Regions from separate parts of the Homo sapiens genome. Here all the other regions are linked to region 2. The links are contacts of gene promoters, found by promoter capture Hi-C in blood cells and fetal thymus (Javierre and others, 2016). All regions are on one chromosome and are shown on one strand. Each heading gives the region's core, a stretch centred on a gene start or on the middle of the fragment in contact. The rest is flanking DNA. Distances are from core to core; before and after follow the strand shown. Region 1 overlaps BCL7C (BAF chromatin remodeling complex subunit BCL7C). Region 2 holds the start of COX6A2 (cytochrome c oxidase subunit 6A2). Region 3 has its middle 7.1 kb from the start of MIR4519.

The links. The method cuts DNA at HindIII sites, captures the fragments that hold promoters and counts their contacts. A CHiCAGO score of 5 or more calls a contact.
Region 1: a contact is called between a fragment that was not itself captured here and the fragment with the promoter of COX6A2 in region 2, in 1 of 17 cell types (monocytes). The highest score is 5.1, in monocytes.
Region 3: a fragment that was not itself captured here is called in contact with the fragment with the promoter of COX6A2 in region 2 in 4 of 17 cell types (naive CD8 T cells, activated CD4 T cells, naive CD4 T cells and 1 more); the score reaches 8.6 in naive CD8 T cells.

What each region holds. Positions count from the first base shown.
Region 1 is chr16:30,885,852-30,888,551 of GRCh38, reverse strand. BCL7C (BAF chromatin remodeling complex subunit BCL7C) reads left to right here. Exons shown (of 6, transcript NM_004765.4): 6 at 562-757. The coding sequence ends at 687. The region is part of intron 2 of MIR762HG (MIR762 host gene); the gene reads right to left. Among named protein-coding and RNA genes, the nearest start is that of MIR762, 6.7 kb to the left of the region's middle. RefSeq lists an enhancer at 595-1,096. The HindIII fragment of the contact is 1,704 bases long and covers 574-2,277 here.
Region 2 is chr16:31,426,947-31,429,646 of GRCh38, reverse strand. COX6A2 (cytochrome c oxidase subunit 6A2) reads left to right here and starts at 1,287. Exons shown (of 3, transcript NM_005205.4): 1 at 1,287-1,394; 2 at 1,496-1,632; 3 at 1,790-1,916. The coding sequence starts at 1,322. The coding sequence ends at 1,873. The HindIII fragment of the contact is 1,386 bases long and covers 527-1,912 here.
Region 3 is chr16:30,866,827-30,869,526 of GRCh38, reverse strand. It overlaps a transcript of BCL7C not described here. Among named protein-coding and RNA genes, the nearest start is that of MIR4519, 7.1 kb to the left of the region's middle. The HindIII fragment of the contact is 4,401 bases long and covers 1-2,700 here.

The sequences.
Region 1 (2,700 bases), core at 176-2,675, 540 kb after region 2:
CATCCTGGCTAACACGGTGAAACCCCGTCTCTACTAAAAATACAAAAATTAGCCGGGCGTGGTGGCACGTGCCTGTAGTCCCAGCTACTCGGGAGGCTAAGGCAGGAGAATTGCTTGAACCCGGGAGGCGGAGGCTGCAGTGAGCCAGGATCGCGCCACTGTACTCCAGCCTGGGTGACAGAGCGAGACTCCTTCTCAAAAATAAATAAATAAATAAAGCCTGACAAAATCATGGCGCTCCTCCATGCATTTTCAAAAAATATCAAAAAATATCTAACTGTATAATTAGCATAAGAAAATTCCTTATAAACCTCTGACATTTCTCACGAGGCTACCTCGAGGCATTTTCAGAAATATCAAATATCAGGTTCGTTCCTCCACACAGTGTCACTGTCGTTGTTGTTTTTGGTGCCTGCTTCCTCTGCATCCTGGGCATCTGGCCCTGGGCTTGCCTCCCGGGCCCAGGAGGGGAGGGGAGTGGAGGCTTTGGAGAAGGCAGAGGCTCAGAGGCTGGACGCCTGGGTTCTGTGGAGCTCACGCCTGTCCACCCTTCCTCTCCAGGCCCCCGAAGCTTACCCTGTCTTTGAGCCAGTGCCACCTGTCCCTGAGGCAGCCCAGGGTGACACAGAGGACTCGGAGGGTGCCCCCCCACTCAAGCGCATCTGCCCAAATGCCCCTGACCCCTGAGAAGCCGGCCTGCCTGTCCTGTTGCCCCAGGGGCCCCTTTGGCTTTTTACAAATAAAGACCCTTTTGTAATTTTGTGTCATGTCATTTCCCCGTCAGGGCTGGGGAGGGTCTTTGGAGACAGTTTTGTCTCATGCACCATTGCTCAGATGTGGTCACTGAGGCTCTGAGAGGACCTTCCTGTAGTGACACCACAAGGCAGAGTGGGGTGGGGGCTTGAGCCAGGACCCTGCCTCTCAGTACTTCCCAGGTCTGTCCTATCTCCCGACCTTCACCTCCTCCTCTGGGAGGCCCAGGACCCCTCTTCCTGCTCAGCCCTCGCCTGGGCCTAACAATTATCAAAACTCTGGGTAGCTAGGCCATGATTCTTTTTTTTTTTTTTTTTTTTTTGAGACACAGACTTGTTCTGTTGCCCAGGCAGGAGTGCAGTGGTGCGATCATGGCTCACTGCAGCCTTGACATCCCACCTCAGCCTCCCAAGTAGCCGGGACCACAGGTGTGTGCCACCATACTCAGCTAATTTTATTTATTTATTTATTTATTTATCACTATTTTTTTTTAGAGAGTTTTGCTCTTGTTGCCCAGGCTGGAGTGCAATGGCGCAATCTCGCCTCACTGCAAACTCTGCCTCCTGGGTTCAAGCAAGTCTCCTGCCTCAGCCTCCTGAGTAGCTGGGATTAGAGGTGCCTGCCACCACGCCCGGCTAATTTTTGTATTTTTAGTAGAGACTGGGTTTTGCCATGTTGGCCAGGCTGGTCTCAAACTCCTGACCACAAGTGATTTGCCCGCCTCGGCCTCCCAAAGTGCTGGGATTACAGGCATGAGCCACCATGCCCAGCCTGCTAATTTTATTTTTTGTAGACATGGGGTCTCGCTACATTGCCCAGGCTGGTCTTGAACTCCTGGGCTCAAGTGTTCCTCCTGCCTTGGCCTCCTAAAGTGTTGGGATTACAGGCGTGAGCCACCGCGCCCAGCCTATTCACGTTTCATACATAATAACACAGAGGCCCAGAGGGACTTGGGGGCCTGGGATGACCAACCCATTCCCTGCCCTGAAGAAGCCACTCCTCCACCTGGGATGCCTGGCCACACTTCTGGTTGGGTCTAACTTATCCCCATCTCAATCACCATCTCCTCCGAGAAGCCTTCCCTGACTCCAGGCTCAGTGAGTTTCCCCTTTTTTGAGCTCCAGCAACCCCTTGGGCTTCATTCTCCTTGTTTCATCATTTATCAGGCTGTTCTGGGATCCGTGGTTTGTGTGTCTGTCTTGTCTACGAGGCTGTGGGCTCCTGAGGGGTCTCCACACAACACTGGGAACAGGGCAGTCCCAGCAGCTGCTTCATGAATAAATGAATACATGAATGGGCTGGGGTTTTCCAGGCAGGCTTCTCTGAGGAGGTGGCATGTGAGCTGGGCTCTGAGACATGAACCTCTGTGCTAGAACTCAAGTCAGAAGCCCTGGTTCAAGTCCTGGCTCTGTTACTCCCTGAGTGGCTCTAGGCAGGCTGTTTCTACTCTCAGCCTTAGTTTGTTCATCTGAGCAATGGGAACAATAACTAGGCCTCATCTGCCCCAGGGGTTTGTGGGAAGCTTCGAGTAATATAAGGCCCTCTCACTCTGTGCCTATAGGGTCATGTATATTGGCCCTATTTTTATTTTTAATAAAGAAAGATACTGAGGTTCAGAGAGGACCAAATTGGAACTTTAAAGAAGCATTAAAAACTGTAGGCTAGGTGTGGTGGCTCACACCTGTAATCCCAGGCCTTTGAGAGGCACAGGTGGGAGGACTGCTTGAGGCCAGGAGTTTGAGACCAGCTTGAGCAACAAAGCAAGACAAAAATGAAAAAATTAGCCAGGCATACTGGTGCGCGCCTGTAGTCCAAGCTTCTTGGGAGGCTGAGGTGGGAAGATTGCTTGAGCCCGGGAAGTTGAGGCTGCAGTGAGTGATGATTGCACCACTGTGCTCAAATCTGGGCAACAAAGCAAGACCCTGTGTCTAAACAAACAAAGGAAAT
Region 2 (2,700 bases), core at 38-2,537:
TCTGAAAAGGCATTGTTGTAGGGTTAACCAAAGTAACAAGGTTCAAGCATTCATTACATACATATTTTTAGAACACCTCCTTCATGCCAAGGTCCCTGCCCGTTGCTGAGGACAGAACAGGCAGATGTCATCCCTGCCTGGTCTTGTGGCTTTCTTGTGACCTGCTTTGATAGAGGGTTCACACCAGCCCTGTCTAGGCTTGCTTTCTCCAAGTAGTCATATTTTTCAGATTGAAATAATGCACTTTGCAGTAGACACCTGTCAGGCTTGTGGCTGCCTGGAACCTTTTGAATACTCATCCTAGACCTGGAGATTTTCCCTACAATTCCTGCCTCCCTAAGGCAGAATCCAGAGCTCAGTTTCCCATCCCCTCCTGCAGCTGGGGGACCTAGGGGTTGCCAGTTGGTGCAATCACATAATTCTTTCAGAAAAGAGCGACCCAGGATACAGGTTTCATGAAGAATCTGTTTTCAAGAGGGGATGAGGGTGGAAAATTCTGGTTTTCCAGGGCAGCCTTAATGAAGCTTTTGGCATCCAGGGTCCAGCAGTGTGAGCTGTGGGGGTGTCACTGCAGCTGGCCAACGGAATGACTTGTTTATGACTGTGCAGACTGTAGGCATCTCTGGCTATATCAGACATAGTAAGCTACCTAAGATTCTCAATTACTTATCTTCTAAAACTAGTAAGAGTGAGTTCTGTTCTTTGCAAAGAACTGTGACTAATACATATACTGAACTACTGTTACCTGCCAAAATCCAGGTTGACACATTCCTACCTTACATAAACTTCATAAAAATGATGTAAGGGCCGTGTAGTGGCTCATGCCTGTAATCCCAGCACTGTGGGAGGCTGAGGCGGGAGGATCACGTGAGCTCAAGAGTTCCACACCAGCCTGGACAATATAGTGAGATCCCCGTCTCCAGTATTTAAAAAATCTTTTAAGGTACGAATTATTATACATTTTACAGCTGAAAACACTGAGACTCAAAAAGACACTTAATTCATTCTACAAATATTTATTAAAGCCCAACTGTGTGCCAGCCACCAGGCATAGAATAGGGAACAAAATAGTTTCCCTGCAACTATATAAAAAGAATGGCATATTGTACTTAAATGCCTCCTTGCCAAAATAAGAGGCACAGGACAACAGCTGTCTGGAGATGACCTCAAGCCAGTCAGGCCCCATTTTAAATATAGAAACCCCTAAGAATAGCCGCCAGTGCTCCAGACTCAACAGGTGATTGGCCCAGAGAGGGGAGGTGACCCCAGGCCCCAGGAAAGGGAGCGAGGACAGCGCTGGTTCCCGGCTCCCCGCACCATCATGGCTTTGCCTCTGAGGCCCCTGACCCGGGGCTTGGCCAGCGCTGCCAAAGGAGGCCACGGAGGAGCAGGAGGTGAGTGGGGAACGGGCGGATCCGGGGGCTCCCCTACCCTGCCCACCTGTTCACAGGCCCGCCGCCCCAGGACCGCCGCGCTCACCCCGCTCCGTCCGCAGCTCGTACCTGGCGTCTGCTGACCTTCGTGCTGGCGCTGCCCAGCGTGGCCCTCTGCACCTTCAACTCCTATCTCCACTCGGGCCACCGCCCGCGCCCCGAGTTCCGTCCCTACCAACACCTCCGCATCCGCACCAAGGTACGCGGGACGGGCGCGCGGGCGGCACGGGGGTGCTGCGGGGGCGGGGGGGGGTGCTGCGGGGGCGGGGGGGGGTGCTGCGGGGGGGGGGTCGCGCGGGGCGCGGACTCCGGACTCACGGCGCTCACGCGCGCTCCCTCCCCCGCTCTCTCCACAGCCCTACCCCTGGGGGGACGGCAACCACACTCTGTTCCACAATAGCCACGTGAACCCTCTGCCCACGGGCTACGAACACCCCTGAGGCCCCGGACGCCCCCGGACACAATAAAGGTGTGAAGCTTCGAGTCTGCGGCTCTGTGGGGAGGGCGGGGCCACGGGGAGCGCGCCCAGAGGCGCCCGCTCCGCGCATGCGCCCAGCTTGGTAAGCGCTCCTGCTCCGCGCATGCGCCTAGCGCGGTGGGCGCTCCACGTGCTTTTCCCACGCCGCTGATACGGAGGTGCTCGAGGGAGCCTCCTCCACTCACAGGTAGGCGATCCCAGCTCCCTGTCTCTCACCTGGTAATAATGAGGCCTCCCTCTCACACACACCTATTAATAATTAGGGCTCTAGGCTGTAATGGGCTTCCGCGTACACCGAATCCTCACAGTAACGCTGGGAGCAGGGTATAAATTTAGTTCACCTTCTCCCGAGGAAGACCTGAGATTCTTGGGAATTAAATGACTTGTCCAAGTTCCGGCAGCTCGGCAGAGCCCCCATGGGAGCCCAGGGCTGCAGATCCTGAAGTCCCACTTCTTGCCTGACACCTGAGCTGCTGGTGTCTGTGAATCCCAGCTCTCTGGATTTCAGACGGAGGCTCCACAGTCCTGTGTGTGAGGCCTTGGGACCTAATGCTGGATTTGGAATCTTTTGATAATTCTCTATAATCTTTCTTTCTTTTTTTTTTTTTTTTTTTGAGACGGAGTCTCGCTCTGTCGCCCAGGCCGGACTGCGGACTGCAGTGGTGCAATCTCGGCTCACTGCAAGCTCCGCTTCCCGGGTTCACGCCATTCTCCTGCCTCAGCCTCCTGAGTAGCTGGGACTACAGGCGCCCGCCACCGCGCCCGGCTAATTTTTTGTATTTTTAGTAG
Region 3 (2,700 bases), core at 133-2,632, 560 kb after region 2:
AAAAAAAAAAAAAAAAAGAAAGAGCCAGGCGTGGTGGCTCACACCTGTAATCCCAGCACTTTGGGAGGCAGAGGCAGGAGATCCACTAGAGCTTAGGAGTTCGAGGCCAGCAACATAGTGAGAACTCATCTCTACAAAAAGTAAAAAAAAATGAGCTGGGCACAGTGGCAGGCGCCTGTAGTCCCAGCTACTCAGGAGGCTGAGGTGGGAGGATTGCTGGAACCTGGGAGGTCGAGGCTGCAGTGAGCCATGATCGTGCCACTGAACTCCAGCCTGGGTGACAGAGTGAGACCCTGTCGCAAAAAACAAAATAAAATAATGAAGGCTATAGGCTCAGAGAGGGAAAGCGATAGGCCCCGAGTGACACAGCAAAGCTGGAACTACGACTCTGGCCCCAGTCTTCAAGCTCGGCACTCTTTCTACTTTGTCTTTCCCATAACTGTCGACTCACAAAGCCATGGCCATGAAAAAATTAGATTCATGGCTGGGTGCGGTGGCTCACACCTGTAATCCCAACATTTTGGGAGGCTGAGGCAGGTGGATCATTTGAGGTCAGGAGTTCAAAAAAAAAGAAAAAATTACAGATTCATTTTAAAAGTGTAATGTGGAAGCTGAGAAGGGAGGTAAAGCAGAGGCATAACAGGCCAATTTTTTTTAAATCTTTTTTTTTTGCTGTTGTATTATTTTTCTTTTCCGTTCTGTTCTTTTTCTTTGTTGTTGCTGTTGTTTTTTGTTTTGTTTCAGATGGAGTTTCGCTCTTGTTGCCCAGGCTGGAGTGCAATGGCGCAATCTCCGCTCACCACAACCTCCACCTCCCAGGATCAAGAGATTCTCCTGCCTCAGCCTCCCAAGTAGCTGGGATCACAGGCGCGTGCCACCACACCTGGCTAATTTTGTATTTTTAGTAGAGACCAGGTTTCTCCATGTTGGTCAGGCTGGTCTCGAACTCCCGACCTCAGGTGATCTGCCCACCTCGGCCTCCCAAAGTGCTGGGATTACAGGCGTGAGCCACCGCGCCTGGCCTATTGTATTGTTTTCTATAGCTGTAACAAATTACAGCAAATTTAGTAGCTTAAAACAACACAGATTTGGCGGGGTGCGGTGACTCACGCCTGTAATCCCAGCACTTTGGGAGGCCGAGGTGGGCGGATCAGGAGGTCAGGAGATGGAGACCATCCTGGCTAACATGGTGAAACCCTGTCTCTACTAAAAATACAAAAAAAAAAAAAAAATTAGCCGGGTCGGGTGGTACACGCCTGTAGTCCCAGCTACTCGGGAGGCTGAGGCAGGAGAATCGCTTGAACCCAGGAGGCAGAGGTTGCAGTGAGCTGAGATCGCACCACTGCATTCCAGCCTGGGTGACAGAGCAAGACTCTGTCTCAAAAAAAAAAAAAAAACCCACAGATTTATCATATTACAATTCCGTAGGTCTGAAGTCTGACATGAGTCTCACTGGGCTAAAATCGAGGTGTTTCTGTTGGACAAGAGATTGTTGTAAAACAACAACAAAAAATAATAAATAAATGAAATCAAATCAGGGTGTCTTCAGGGCTGTGTTCCCTCCTGGAGGCTCTAGGGGACAGTCTGTTTCACTCTCTCTTCCAGCTTCCAGAGGCCCCTCCCTCCATCTTCAGAGTCAGTCACACTGCATTTCTGACCATTCTTCCACAATCACATCTCCCTCTGATCAAAATCAGAAATAAGTCTCTGATTTTATTTTATTTTTTTCTTTTTGAGATGGAGTCTTGCTCTGTTGCCCAGGCCGGAGTGCAGTGGCGCGATCTTGGCTCACTGTAACCTCCGCCTCCCGGGTTCAAGCGATTCTCCTGTCTCAGCCTCCTGAGTAGCTGGGATTACAGGCATGCGCCACCACGCCTGGCTAATTTGTGTATATTTAATAGAGATGGGGTTTCACCATGTTGGCCAGGCTGGTCTCGAACTCCTGACCTCAGGTGATCTGCCTGCCTCGGCCTTCCAAAGTGCTGGGATGGCCGAGTCTCTGATTTTAAAGACCAACATGATTACATTGTGCCCCCCTGGATAATCCAAGACCACCCGCATCTCAAGGTCCTTAATCACACCTGCAAAATCCCTTCACCATGTAAACTAAGACATTCACATGTTCCAGGGGTTAGGGTGTGGGAATTTTAGGACATCAGAATAATGGCCATTATTCTGCCTACCACTTATGAAACATCCATATACATAAATATTCATAGAAAAATAGTCTAAGATAGTATTACAAAACAAAATATCCTTATAACCACCACCCAAACCAAGAAATAAACATGGTCAGAATCTCAATGATACCCACCTTCCCCCAATCATGTTTTTTTGGGCCTGGAATTTTTTTGTCCATCTATTAACTTTCAACATTTTTGTCACTTTGTTTTATGTGCATTTCCTATACATTGCATATGGCTAGATTTTAAAAGTCATTTGGTTTGACAAGCTCTGACTTTTGTTTGTTTTTGAGACAGGGTATCTCCCTGTCATCCAGGATGGAGTGCAGTAGCACAATTGTAGCTCACTGTAGCCTCAAACTCCTGGGCTCAAGTGATCCTCCAGCCTCAGCCTTCTGGATAGTTGGGACTACAGGTGTGCACCACCATGCTCAGCTGATTTTTAAACTTTTTGTAGAGAAGATATCTCATTATGTTGCCCAGACTGGTCGTGAACTCTTGGCCTTATATAATCCTC